Linked DNA regions of Homo sapiens: all the other regions are linked to region 4. Evidence: promoter capture Hi-C in 16 types of primary human blood cells and fetal thymus (Javierre and others, 2016). All regions are on one chromosome and are shown on one strand. Each heading gives the region's core, a stretch centred on a gene start or on the middle of the fragment in contact. The rest is flanking DNA. Distances are from core to core; before and after follow the strand shown.

Region 1 (2,700 bases), core at 201-2,700, 380 kb before region 4:
GGTGAATAAGCAGGGTGAGGGACCCGGATCGCCCTGGCTGCTCATGCAGCGGAGCCAGGAGTGAAGGCTCAGGTTCCAGTCCTGGCTCTGCCTTGAACTTGCTGTGTGACCTTGGGCAAGTGAGATAACCAGTCCCTGCCTTGGTTTCCTCACCTGGAAGTGGGGCTGTGAGGGGCACCACCTCACAGGGCTGCAGAGAGGCTTCAGGAGCTACTAGTACACAATGCCAAGCCAGTTCCTGGGCAGTTGAGAAAGGAGAGGGGAAATCTCTGCATGAGCTGAAACCACAGCCTGCTTTTCTCTGCCTTTCTGCCCCAGAGCCAGGGTTCTCCATCCTGCTGCTTGGAGGAGCTGGCCTGGCCCTCACCCTGCCTCCTGGGCCCTGGGGCCCAGCCTGAGGAGTGGGGAGGAGGAGGCAATGCCAACACTCATCAAAAGTCAAAGTTCGTCTGTAGTGCTCTCTTGCCTGGCTTTTAGCATCCCTTAGGCTGCTGAGAAGACCGACTTCTCATGGGGACAGGTTCCATCCTTGAGGGGTTTTGTTGACAGGAGCTTTCCTAGCACCTCCCTGAGAACCAGGAAGCTCAGCTTCTAGGGCTGACTGGGGATGCTAGGAGTAGGGAAGTTGTCTTCAGATGCATCTCAGAATGGTTTCTTGTCCCTCCAGTTGCCCTCTTCCCACCACCTCCGCCCACCCAGGCTCTGCCTCTCCTGTGTTGGGCCAAGTCTGTGGAATTCCAGGCACAGGCTAGAAGCCCCAGACTCAGAGCCCCCTTCTCAGCATCTCCCCAGGATCCCCCTGAAGGGGCATGCTTGGTTCTGCTGGCTCTTGAGCCAAGACAGAGCTTCCTACATGGGGCTTGGGTGGCATGTTCGTAAATGTGACATGATGCGGATGTTGGTATTCACGCTGGGAGAGGACCCAGGCCAGGCTCTGCTGGGCGAATCAAGGGCATCACCTTAAATTTTATTCTTCTCCAGCTTCTTTTTAGAATCACGAACTGGATCTGCCAGCCCCTCTACTTCTCCTTTTCCTTCTCCCTTTTTGCTGCTCTTTGGCCAATGAATGAAACCTCGGGGATCCTGGCAGAGGAAGTCCAGCGAGTGCAGGGCAGGGAGCACCTGTTTGACCTCTCAGGGGTTCCAGGGAAGGATTAATGCTGAATGAGGCTTTCTCTTACCTCGAGTGGGATTTGGTACTTAGGTCTGAATAAATATTCTGGCTGTATTGCTTCTGCTTCCTGGATTTACATCCTGATTCTGGGATTTTTAAAGAAGGTGAAGTCACTGACCACTGTGCTGATTTAATCTGCAGGCATGCATGCCTTTTGGCCTACACAGACAGTTCCCAGAGAACAGCCTGCAGATGATGGTGCAGTCGGGAGCCAAAGGTTCAACTGTGAACACGATGCAGGTATGTGCAGAGGCGGGTTGGCAGCTTTACAGGTGTCAGCAAAGGCAGGTGGGGGATAGCAGGAGGTGGTTTCAGTTTGTTCCCTATAAAACATGACAAGTAAAAAGAGGAAAGCGTGTAGAAATCACTACAGGAGCTAACCACTGTTAACATGCCAATGTTAAAGGCAGATGTAGTTATGAATATGCAGATGGGATATGTATAACGTAGATATATATTACAAATTTACAAACTGTACTATTACATATATTCACGTTATATAGATAAATTATGTATACTCACACAATTTTTACGTAATTTTGCATGATTGTTTCTTTCTTTCTTTCGTTTTTTTTCGAGATGAAGTCTTGCTCTGTCACCGGGCTGGAGTGCAGTGGCGCAATCTTGGCTCACTGCAACCTCTGCCTCCCAGGTTCCAGAGATTCTCCTGCCTCTCGGGATTACAGGCATGCGCCACCATGCCTGGCTAATTTTTGTATTTTTAGTAGAGACGGGGTTTCACCATGTTGGCCAGGATGCTTTCAATCTCTTGACCTCGTGATCTGCCCACCTCGACCTCCCAAAGTGCTGGGATTACAGGCATGAGCCACCGCACCTGGCCGATCTTTTCATAATATTAAATTATAAACATAAACATTGTCCTAGAGATTTCTTAACCTTAAACCTTGGTGACCTTGAGAGGGTCTAAAGGCCCACCCCATTGTCTGTTGAGTGTGACAACAGAAAGGCCGAAAGCCGTTAGGAAATCCCCTGACTACATCGAAACCTAGATATACTGCTCTCCTCCAACACGCCAAGAGTATTAACAGGCAGCTTTCTAAGCAAATAGCTCAATAGCTTGAGTTCCCATTTTGTTGTTGTTGTTGTTGTGTTTTGTTTTGTTTTGTTTTTAATTGAAAATAAGACAGAGTCTCCCTGTATTGCCCAGGGTGGTCTCAAACTTCTGGGCTCAAGGGATCCTCCTGCCTCAGCCCCGCAAAGTGCTAAGATTGTAGATGTGAGCCACCACACCCGGCCCTGAGTTCCCTTTTGGCTCTAGAATGTGAGGATCGCAATAAATGGCTGTTTCCTGCAGGCCTCTCTTTCCCCATCAGGACCCTCCAGTCCTTTACAGGTATAACATGAGATGGTTCTGAGACATGGCTCTTTTTATAGAGAGCACCCATTTTCAACTGACCCCAAATGTGAAAATCCAGATCAGTCAACCAAAGGAAGGTATTTTTTTTTTCTTAAAATGAAGGCTTCCTGGTTTGTTTAGAAATGTAGGTTAGCCTTCAAGAACTCGG
Region 2 (2,700 bases), core at 135-2,634, 470 kb before region 4:
AAGACAGAAGCTAATTTCATGTTGCTTGCTTTGGACTACAGGAAAGAGGGTAACTTTAAGAACAGATTTCTGCTAAGGGCAAGATATGTTTAGATGTATCATCACTCAAATATGGGTTTGGGTAGCAGAACTCTCCAAAATGGCAGATAAAACCAGGGAAGCTAGCCTTAAGAAGACCTCAGTATGGGAGGATATACTGGCTGGTGAGTTTCAGGCCTACCTCTGGTGGGTGCTTGTCCCTTGCCATGAGCATCAGGATCTCTTCTCTCAGGTCACTGCGGAAAGTATGACCATATTCTTTACTATCTTGAAACAAGAAAGGAACAAGGAGTGATCATTGTTATGTAAAACCAACACACTTTTGTTCACTGTCAACCTATTTTTTGGTAGGTAAAAATAAGTTGCTGTTATTTATTCTAGGCTTATCCCAGGATTCCAGAAACCCACCAGGATTCACAGTGGAACAAATGTAAAAGCCAATGCCTGGGCCTTGCTCCAGTGACGTGTTCATCACGGCATGTGCACTACATGGGAGCAGCCACCAGCTCCACGTGGTTAAGACGTTGTTTTATAGCACTTGGGAATTTGATATACTTTTATCACTCATTAGAGCAGTCGTGTGAAGCAGGAGGGCGGGACTAGAGCCTACTGACTTTATGATACAGTAGTCACCTAGTGAAAGATACAGAATATCTATTTCATTTTGCAGCCAAGTTATACACATAAGACACACACACCCGTGATGCGTGATGCTCATGGCTATTACTTGGAAACAGAATCATCACTGACTGTGGTTAGTGAAGTGAGGCAACACTGGCACAGAGGAATTACACAGGCTTCCGGGTCAAAGACCTTTATTCAGATTTAGGGTCTGCCACGCCATTAGCATTTATTTTCTTTGGGTCATATCCCGCAACAGGTGCACAAAACTCAGCTCATTCCTATGTCACGAAGGGACTGACTTAAGTCATTTTCAACAAAATTTTCTCCTGATAGCCAACATGCAACATGAGCACATGACCTTGAAGTACATCTCAACTAACACATTTGGTTCAGTCAAAATGGAAGTTTTCATCCCTAACAGTAATGTTAGCACATTCATTATCAAAGTAGAGGATATTGAGGTGAGATGCACCTGGACACATAAAAAGTAAAACTGACCTTTCCAAATTTTAGGAATCACTTCTAGCCGATTGGCCACATCCAATGCTTGGAGAAGATGTATCATTGTTTGGGAGTGGGGAAAGTAGGCCTGATTAAGAGAAACACATTTTTAAAGCATTAATCTGCAGAAACCCAATTCATCTAGAATGATAAATAACAAGTAATGAACCATCTTACTGAAGGTATCAGGTCCTCATACCACTTCAAGGTAACATCAATTTGTTCCATTAGACAAATCAAATCGAAGAACTTGGAACTGTGATGAAGGCAAAAAGTATGTTTAGTCTAAAGTCCCTATGTCTAACAACAGGGGAAATAAGGGTTGAAATTATAGCATATTATATGTTACAAAGAATTTCAAAATACTTACAGTTTCAAGTTAAACGAGCCAATATTTGGTTTAAGAGCTGCCAGTGTGTGCTGACTTCTCAATTAAACACCCTACCCTCAACTGGTCATTTCTAACTGTTTCCTCTGTATACTCTTAGGTCATGGTGAATAGATACTGAATTTCAAATTCATTTTAAAAACATTCAATGTGAAACAAGGATTTGGATACACAGAAAACAATTCTCACACATCTGTTAACATGCTGCCTTCTTAAATTCATGTTCTTATCTGCCTAAAAGCAAACCCATTTAGGGAGTATCTCTAGGTTCCAGTATCTTCATCTTTGAATACAAAAGCAAGGGAGGTGAAAGGAAATCTTCAGGGCTCACCCTGCTATAACAATTTGAAAATGTAAAATGAGAGGGGGTAGAGGAAAAAGATATGTGGATTTTACAGTGTTGCAAAAAAAAAAAAAAAAAAACCCTTAAAGGACACAAACTAGTCTTTCAAATCTGGCAGTTTTACCACTGCTTTAATTCCTAAGTGCTCAATTAACATGTCCTATTAGATCATTGGCATGTTGCCTGAAACCAGAGGTGAGGTATGAAGGGACATCAACAGCCTCCCACTTGCAGAATCTGGTAACTCATGCAAAAGGATATGTTTCCAACACACTTACTAATAGAAATTACGATGTTGATCAGGTCCAATGAATTTCCAGTTGTCTCCGGTTTTTAAAAGGCCATGTACTTGGTAGGCAAGTTCTAGATCTCTGAGAGATGAGCACTGAAAATATGCAAGTAGTAAGTATCACTCTGATACCCTGTCAGCCAGTGGTTCACAAATAAATAACAACAGTAGAGTGTCTTGTGAAAATAATGTTGATTCAACATATTATTGGTTGACAGCAAGTAAGTTATAAGAAATGGGGGGGAGACAAATCCCAAGTTCTGTGAAATTTATTACAATATTATTTTAATTAAGCAATTATACCATTAAAAATTAATCCTGTAACAACACCTGGTCAAGTGCACAAAAGACACCTGCACTGCAGAGTCTGGACTAGTAAAAATCTCCATGAAATAACTCCAAAATCTACCCACAGGAAAGTTAAGTTATGGTTCTTACTATGAAATACTGGTTGCTGCCAACAAATAAAACACCCTGAAAGTATGCCTGGATATACATACGCTTGAGTACCCAGAG
Region 3 (2,700 bases), core at 135-2,634, 400 kb before region 4:
AGGACTCACGGACAAAGTGGGGCGCGTGAAGCTCCTTTCTCCTTCCATCCTGAAGCCCTTTCCGCTGTGGACAGGAAAACAGGTAATTGGGAGAGAACAGCCAGTGTATGTAACAAAAGGAAATAGGCCACTCATGTAAAAGGTTTTATTCTCAGAAGAGTCCAGACCAGAGACAGAGAAATGGCTAAGCCAGCAATAGTCTGACTTTCTTTCCCCTTTGTTTGGGGTTCCTGAGTCTGGGTGGCTTCAAGGGAGTGTCTAGCAAGAGTAGACTGCATAGTAGCCTGGTGCAGTGGCTCACACCTGTAATCCCAACACTTTAGGAGACTGAGGCGGGCAGATCACCTGAGGTCTGGAGTTTGAGACCAGCCTGGCTAACATGGTGAAACCCTATCTCTACTAAAAGTACAAAATTAGCTGGGCGTGGGATTAGTGCCTGTAATCTCAGCTACCGGGAGGCTGAGGCAAGAGAATCGCCTCAGCCTGAGGCAAGAGAATCGCTTGAACCCAGGAGGTGGAGGTTGTAGTGAGTCAGGATCAGCCACTGCACTCCTGCCTGGGCAACAGAGTGAGACTCCGTCTCCACAAAAAAAAAAAAAGTAGACTGCATAGTTTCTGTCCTTTGCTTCTAACTTAAATTTGGTGTCCTCATAATACAAATATGGTGGTAATAGGCAGTGGTGCTGGTGGAGTAATAGTAATATTTGTTGGGAAGTTCCATATGTTTGCTGAGTGCTTTAGACACATTATCTGATTTAATACTCACGACTAATCTGCAATGCAGACACCATTATTATCTCCATTTAGGAGATGATAAATTACATGCCCAAGACTACAGGAGACAGATCAAACCCAGGACTTTTCAACCCCAGAAGCATCATACCATACTTCCTCTCAAAGTAACCAAATTACATGATATGTGGCGACCAAATAATGAAAAACAGTAAAATATGTTCTTCTGCTGTTGCCTGAGTATCCAAGTTCAGCCTTAAGGATCAACTTCTAATTGGCTATGTGATCTTAGCCCTGTGTGTCTCAGTTCCTCATCATTTCCTGGGACAGTAGAAATTAACTTGCTAAGCTAAGTTCTGATTCTAAACATGGTTTTTCTCTTTGAAACCAGACTAACCCACAAACAAATTCTTGCATAGTGTAGTCACTCTTGCCCTTTTCACCTGTTGGCAAAAAAAAAGCCCGTACCAACCTTTAGAGACACACTAAAAAATCTCACCCGTGACAGAAGCAAAACCTGGACCTATTTCCTAATTTTATTTGGTACAGAGGATTTTAAAAGGATTCAAGATGTGGCCTCTGGGCATAATGGAATTTGGAAATCAGCAACCAAGATATTTGGAAAAGCCCTCAATATTTGTACTTCTAAATAACGTACTTCTTAAATAGCTCATGGGTCAAAAGAATCTAAAGGGAAATTAGAAAGCATTCTGAAGTAGATGAAATGAAAACACAACAAAATTTGTGGGATGCCACTGAAGCAGAACTTAAGGGGGAAATTTATACATAAAATGCCTAGGTTGAAAAGAAGAAAAAGGGTCCCAAATCAATGACTTCAGCTTCAAGTTCATGATCTCTAAGGTCTCTTCCTGCTCTCCAGTTCTTAGTCTGTGGACCTGGAACTTGATTTTCCTTTTTAAGCCAACCTTGCATTCCTGGATAAACCTTCCTTGGTCGTGAGGTATTATCCTTTTTATATATTATTGAATTCAATTTGCTAATATTTTGTCTAGAATTTTTTTACTTCTGTGTTTGTGATAGATATTGGTCTGTAGTTTTATTTTCTTATAATATGTTTGTTTGGTTTTGGTATCAGGGTAATCCTGGCCTCACAGAATGAGGTGTTAGGAGGTATTTCCTCTGGTTTTCTGTAAGAGTTTGTGTAGTACAGTATTCATATTATTTATTCCTTAAATGTGTTGTAGAATTCACCAGTGAAGGCATCTGGGCCTAGAGTTTCTTTGTGGCAAGGTTTTCTTTCTTTTTTTTTTTTTTTTTTTTTTTTTTTGAGATGGAGTTTTGCTCTTGCTGCCCAGGCTGGAATGCAATGGTGTGATCCTGGCTCACCGCAACCTCCACCTCCCAGATTCAAGCAATTCTCCTGCCTCAGCCTCCCAAGTAGCTGGGATTACAAGCATGCGCCACCATGCCCGGCTAATTTTGTATTTTTAGTAGAGATGGGGTTTCTCCATGTTGGTCAGGCTGGGCTCGAACTCCCAACCTCAGGTGATCCACCAACCTTGGCCTCCCAAAGTGCTGGGACTACAGGCCTGAGCCACCGCGCCCAACCTGTGGGAAGATTTTCAATTAAAATTTCTATTTCTTTAGTAGACATAGAGCTATTTTTGGTTATCTACTTCTTGAATGAGCTTTAATTGTTTGTGTTTTTCAGGGAATTTGTCCATTTCATCTAAGTTACTGAATTTATAGGCACAAAGTTGTTCATAATGCTCCTTTGTTGACCTTTTCTATCTGTATTGCCTGTAGTGGTGTCACTTCTCTCATTCCTGACATTGATAATTTGTGTCTTCTCTTTTTTCCTGATCAGTTTGCCTAGAGGTTTATCAGTTTTATTCTCAAAAAAAAGTCTTTGGTTTTATTGACTTTATTTTTCTGTTTTCTGTTTCGTTGATTTGAACTTTATCACTCCCTTTCTTCTGTTTACTTTGGTTTAATTTGCTCTTTTTT
Region 4 (2,700 bases), core at 111-2,610:
TTTTGAGACAGAGTGTTACCTGGCCAACATGGTGTCAGGAGACTGCCCATCCCAGGGACCAGGAGCCAGGACACCCTCAGCTCAGTCACATGTTTAATGGCCACATGTTTAATGGCCTCACACTCCCATTCCAGAGTGCAGCGGTGCAATCATGGCTCACTGCAGCCGCGACCTGGTGGGCTCAAGCGATCCTCCTGCCCCAGCTTTCTGAGTAGCTGGGACCAGAGACATGCACCACCACACAAGGTTAATTTTTTAATTTTTTTGTAGTTATGGAGTCTTACTATATTGGCCAGGCTGGTCTCAAACTCCAGGGCTCAAAGGATCCTCCCTCCTCGGCCTCCCAAAGTGCCAGGATTACAGGAGTGAGCCACCACACCCAGCCCCATCTCTTTTCATCATGGTACTAATTCCTGCCCGTCCACCCACAAAAGCACTGTAGTGCTTCCCGAGTATAGAGGCCTGTGAGCCTCCACTAGGGAGAGGGCTCCTGCAGAGATCAGATAAATTGATCACAATGGCTGGGGTGGTGGCAATGTGCTAATGCTCTCTTTCTTCCACTCAAGATATCCTCTGTCTCCCTCAGCCTGTGAGCTTTTTCTCCAGTGTGCTCTGCCAGTGGGGGCCCTGCCTGAGAGCCCCTGCAGCTGCAGAGGACAGTTTCTTTCTGCTGAACCATCGCAGCTATGCCCCAGCCCCTACCCTGGAGGGGTCCCCAGGGGCCATGGGCAGCACCTCCTGTATAGGGCTGTCTGGGAGCCACTCCAGGGCCACAGAAATCTTGTCTCTGACTCAGGGTATTTTGTTTTCTGTTTTGTGTAAATGCTCTTCTGACTAATGCAAACCATGTGTCCATAGAACCAGAAGATTTTTCCAGGGGAAAAGGTAAGGAGGTGGTGAGAGTGTCCTGGGTCTGCCCTTCCAGGGCTTGCCCTGGGTTAAGAGCCAGGCAGGAAGCTCTCAAGAGCATTGCTCAAGAGTAGAGGGGGCCTGGGAGGCCCAGGGAGGGGATGGGAGGGGAACACCCAGGCTGCCCCCAACCAGATGCCCTCCACCCTCCTCAACCTCCCTCCCACGGCCTGGAGAGGTGGGACCAGGTATGGAGGCTTGAGAGCCCCTGGTTGGAGGAAGCCACAAGTCCAGGAACATGGGAGTCTGGGCAGGGGGCAAAGGAGGCAGGAACAGGCCATCAGCCAGGACAGGTGGTAAGGCAGGCAGGAGTGTTCCTGCTGGGAAAAGGTGGGATCAAGCACCTGGAGGGCTCTTCAGAGCAAAGACAAACACTGAGGTCGCTGCCACTCCTACAGAGCCCCCACGCCCCGCCCAGCTATAAGGGGCCATGCACCAAGCAGGGTACCCAGGCTGCAGAGGTGCCATGGCTGAGTCACACCTGCTGCAGTGGCTGCTGCTGCTGCTGCCCACGCTCTGTGGCCCAGGCACTGGTGAGTCTCCCCCAGCCTCCCCTCTCCTAGGCAGCTCCACCACTCACTGAGCACTGCTTTGTGCTAGGCATTAACCCAAGTCTGTCCTCATTTTAAAGACAAGGCAGCTGGGGTTCAGAGAGGGTTCAGAGCTTATCCAAGGTCACACAGCTGGCGGGTCCAGGAGCAGGTGGAACCCAGAGCTGTCTGACGTCCACATGTTTAATGGCCTCACACTCCCAGCAAAACTGGGTCTAGAGGGTGGGTGAAATCATGATGCCAGGTGTGTAGCCTGGATCCTGATTAAGGTTGCTCTGGCCCCAAACCACAGCTGCCTGGACCACCTCATCCTTGGCCTGTGCCCAGGGCCCTGAGTTCTGGTGCCAAAGCCTGGAGCAAGCATTGCAGTGCAGAGCCCTAGGGCATTGCCTACAGGAAGTCTGGGGACATGTGGGAGCCGTGAGTACCACCAAGGATGCATGGCAACTGGGGGTCTGAAATGAAGGGTGCTGGGTGGGCTCTGGATGGGCAGGAGGAGAGTGGAGCCCCCATAGGGGATGGATGAGATGAAATGGGATGAGATGAAATGAGATAGGATAAAATGGAATGGGATGGATGCGATGGGATACGATGACATAGAATAGATGGAGTCGGATGAATGGGATGGGATGGGATGGATGGGAGGGGAAGGGATAGGATAGGATGACATAGAATAAAGATGGATGGGATGGGATGGGATGGGATGGGATGACACAGAATAAAGATGGATGGATTGGGATGGATGAATAGAAGAGATGGATGGGATAAATTGATATGGATGAGATGGGACAAGTTGGGCTGGTGGGCAGCTGCATGTGCCTTGGAGTGCTCTGTTGGCCTCTTCCTAAGAGAACCTCCCCATTGGAGCTGGGAGCCTCCCCCACTCATGTGTCCTCCACCTTGGGGCCCCTCCCTCCCCAGGATGACCTATGCCAAGAGTGTGAGGACATCGTCCACATCCTTAACAAGATGGCCAAGGAGGCCATTTTCCAGGTAATGATGCCCAGATCCTGGATGAAGGTTGGGGCCCAAGAGATGAGGGACAGAGCAGGGAAGAGCTGAGCCCCCTAAAGGGGCCATTTCCAGGCTGAGGAGGAGGCCTGGGTGCCTGGGAAGTCCCAGCTCCTCCTGGCTGGGAGCAGGTCATGGCCCTGAGCTCAATAGCACAGCCAGAGATGGTCTTCCCTGAGGGGAAGGGCCCCTACATGTGCCCAACTACTTAACTCCTTGGCACTCGTGA
Region 5 (2,700 bases), core at 14-2,513, 420 kb before region 4:
GTGGTGGTGGGGGTGTTTCCGCTGGTTAAAAATAAAAGGTGAAAACCATAAAGTAAATATATTGGATTCTCTTCAAAATGGCACTCCAAGGTTCTCTGACTTTTTTTAAAAAAACAGGTAAAGAACGTGTGTGAGAGCAAGAGCAAGCTCATTGCTCTCTTCTGGAAGGCACATATGAATGCTAAGCGCTGTCCCCACTGCAAGTAAGTATCAGGGCCCTTGCGCCAGGTGAGACGTCTCTGGGCAGTCACTCATTGCTATTATTAAATATCTTACTGGGTTTTTTCTCTCTTCAATCACAACTGTCCTCCTGCACAGGACCGGGCGATCCGTTGTCCGAAAGGAACACAACAGCAAGTTGACTATCACGTTTCCAGCCATGGTGCACAGGACAGCTGGCCAGAAGGACTCTGAGCCCCTGGGTGAGCAGGCTGGGTCTGGAGAGGAGCTCCATGTGAGGCCAGCAGATGTGTCCTAAACCCTGGGAATACCTGGTTCTCCTCACCACGTGTTTCTCTGCTGCATTTGGGAGGGGCCAGCAGAGGCACAGTGTGCAGGCCTCTCAGGCCTGAGGGGACCCTGGCAAGCGCCCAGCTCAGGCCTCTCACATGGGAGAGCTGATGGGAGGGGCTGTTTTATGAGGCAGTGCCCCACAGGCGCCTCTTGCCTTAGGTGGTCGTTTTTCTGAAAGGTTTTTCAGGAAGAAATTAAGAAATTTACCTGACAAATATTTTGAAACATTTTACTGTAAAACAAGTGTGGATCTATTTTGGAATAAAATGTAGGCGAATAATTTTTAAGAAAAACTGCAAGAATTCAGCAAAACATGAGCGCCTCCTGCAGGCTACTCCTGGCTGTCCACCCAGATCCCCCCAGGTAGAATTCTTTCCTCAGCTCTGCCCTACCCAAGCTCTGCTTGGGAAAAATTTTGAGATAACTTAATACTCCCACTTTTTAATTTTTATAGTCATAGGCTTATTTAAAAATGTTTTTTGGTTTTTATTCTGAAGTGGTCAGAAGATTAAATAGAGTATTCCAAGAGAAGCACTGAGAGCGGTACCTGCTGTGTAATATGTGCTATGTAAATGTTAACTGTTCATTTCTTATTATGTCATCAGTGTTCCAGGGTAGAAAATGCATAACCTGGCTGGGCACGGTAGCTCACACCTGTAATCCCAGTACTTTGGGAGGCTGAGGCAGGCAGATCACTTGAGGTCTGGAGTTCAAGACCGGCCTGGCCAACGTGGTGAAACCCCATCTCTGCTAAAAACACAAAAATTAGCCAGGCGTGGTGGCGGGCACCTGTAATCTCAGCTACTCAGGAGGCTAGGGCAGGAGAATCGCTTGAACCCAGGAGGCGCACTCTGCAGTGAGCTGAGATCGTGCCACCGCACTCCAGTCTGGGTGACAGAGCAAGACTCCGTCTCAGAAAAAGAAAGAAAAAGCACAACCTGCAATTGTCACTTGGCTCTGCCACTTTTTCTGAGTGGCAGATAGAAGGCTGTTTTGAGGCGTTTCCATTTCTAACTCTATATAATGGCATTCCTAAAGCCTCTTGCCTAGAATTGAGGAAGTTACATGCATGGCAGTCCATAGCAGATACTGTTACTAAACCTTTCACCAGGGTTTGAGAATATGGGATAAGCATGGAAATAAGATCCCCTCCTGGAGATGCATGATGTATGTTTTACATTGAACACTCTGGCATGGCCTGGACTAAATGAAAAACCTGTTTAATATTTTTTTAAAATGTTATAGTTTAGGATAATTTTTAGACTTAATAGAAGAGTAGTAAACATAGTACAGAGAATTCCTTAATACTGTTTACTTCATTTGCCCTACTGTATAACATAGTAGATTACCATGGTGCATTTGTCAAAACTGAGTTTAACATTGGTGCAACACTATTATCTAAACTACAGACTTTTTAAATTTTGCTGGTTTTCCAGTAATTTCCTTTTTATGCTCCAGGATCCAACCCAGGATACCACACTGCATTTAGAAAGCCTTTTTAATTTTGTTTCATGGTTGGTAGTTAACACTGTAAGAGTGGATTTTCCTACACTTAACCATTAAATTGCCCTCAAAACAATTTTCTTGTATTACCAGTTGGGAATTGCTTCTGTAGCCCTTAGGATGCCTTATAAAATGTTCATAGATTGAGAACAAAGATGGTCAGAATTCTTTCTAGAAGATAGTTTTCGTGGGGCAAATGTCCGGCAGGTAAGTAGCCTTTCAATGCCTTCACCAAACCCATTCTTCTAAAGTCATCTTTCATTGCAGCCACGCAAATATGATGGTGCAACCAAAAGTCTGTGCATTAGAAACAAGTAGACCATAGTCTTCTACAGCTCCAGGCTTGGGTATTCAGTATTTAGCACACATTTATTTGTTGGGTGCTCAGCATTATGCCAAGGACCATGTTTGTGATGAGCACAATGCCAGGACACAGACCAGACCATGTGGTCTCTGCTCTCTGAAGGGGCTGCAAGTGACACAGATCAGTAACCCTGGGGAGCAGGTGATGTGGAGGAAAGTGAGCAGCCTCAGCGTGGGTCTGACCATGTTCCTGGTATCAGAGGGAATCAAAAAGTGAGGGCTAGGCTGGGAGTGGTGGCTCACGCCTGTAATCCGAGCACTTCGGGAGGCCGAGTCAGGCGGATCATCTGAAGTCAGGAGGCAGGCAGATCATCTGAGGTC

What was found. Contacts are between HindIII fragments. The CHiCAGO score rates a contact against its expected background, and 5 or more counts as called.
Region 1: a fragment that was not itself captured here is called in contact with the fragment with the promoter of SFTPB in region 4 in 1 of 17 cell types (neutrophils); the score reaches 6.3 in neutrophils.
Region 2: a fragment that was not itself captured here is called in contact with the fragment with the promoter of SFTPB in region 4 in 2 of 17 cell types (fetal thymus and M1 macrophages); the score reaches 6.2 in fetal thymus.
Region 3: a fragment that was not itself captured here is called in contact with the fragment with the promoter of SFTPB in region 4 in 1 of 17 cell types (monocytes); the score reaches 6.6 in monocytes.
Region 5: a contact is called between a fragment that was not itself captured here and the fragment with the promoter of SFTPB in region 4, in 3 of 17 cell types (neutrophils, M0 macrophages and fetal thymus). The highest score is 6.9, in neutrophils.

The regions. Positions count from the first base shown.
Region 1 is chr2:86,045,879-86,048,578 of GRCh38, reverse strand. POLR1A (RNA polymerase I subunit A) reads left to right here. Exons shown (of 34, transcript NM_015425.6): 19 at 1,316-1,414. Among named protein-coding and RNA genes, the nearest start is that of POLR1A, 59 kb to the left of the region's middle. RefSeq lists an enhancer at 2,149-2,700. The HindIII fragment of the contact is 4,266 bases long and covers 1-2,700 here.
Region 2 is chr2:86,131,898-86,134,597 of GRCh38, reverse strand. It overlaps PTCD3 (pentatricopeptide repeat domain 3), which reads right to left. Exons shown (of 24, transcript NM_017952.6): 17 at 2,174-2,280; 18 at 1,342-1,420; 19 at 1,162-1,252; 20 at 221-306. Among named protein-coding and RNA genes, the nearest start is that of SNORD94, 2.6 kb to the left of the region's middle. The HindIII fragment of the contact is 3,229 bases long and covers 1-2,700 here.
Region 3 is chr2:86,062,656-86,065,355 of GRCh38, reverse strand. POLR1A (RNA polymerase I subunit A) reads left to right here. Exons shown (of 34, transcript NM_015425.6): 14 at 1-82. Among named protein-coding and RNA genes, the nearest start is that of POLR1A, 42 kb to the left of the region's middle. The HindIII fragment of the contact is 7,905 bases long and covers 1-2,700 here.
Region 4 is chr2:85,666,859-85,669,558 of GRCh38, reverse strand. SFTPB (surfactant protein B) reads left to right here and starts at 1,360. Exons shown (of 11, transcript NM_000542.5): 1 at 1,360-1,442; 2 at 1,753-1,880; 3 at 2,382-2,453. The coding sequence starts at 1,376. The HindIII fragment of the contact is 15,484 bases long and covers 1-2,700 here.
Region 5 is chr2:86,086,288-86,088,987 of GRCh38, reverse strand. POLR1A (RNA polymerase I subunit A) reads left to right here. Exons shown (of 34, transcript NM_015425.6): 5 at 118-203; 6 at 319-422. Among named protein-coding and RNA genes, the nearest start is that of POLR1A, 18 kb to the left of the region's middle. The HindIII fragment of the contact is 6,532 bases long and covers 1-2,700 here.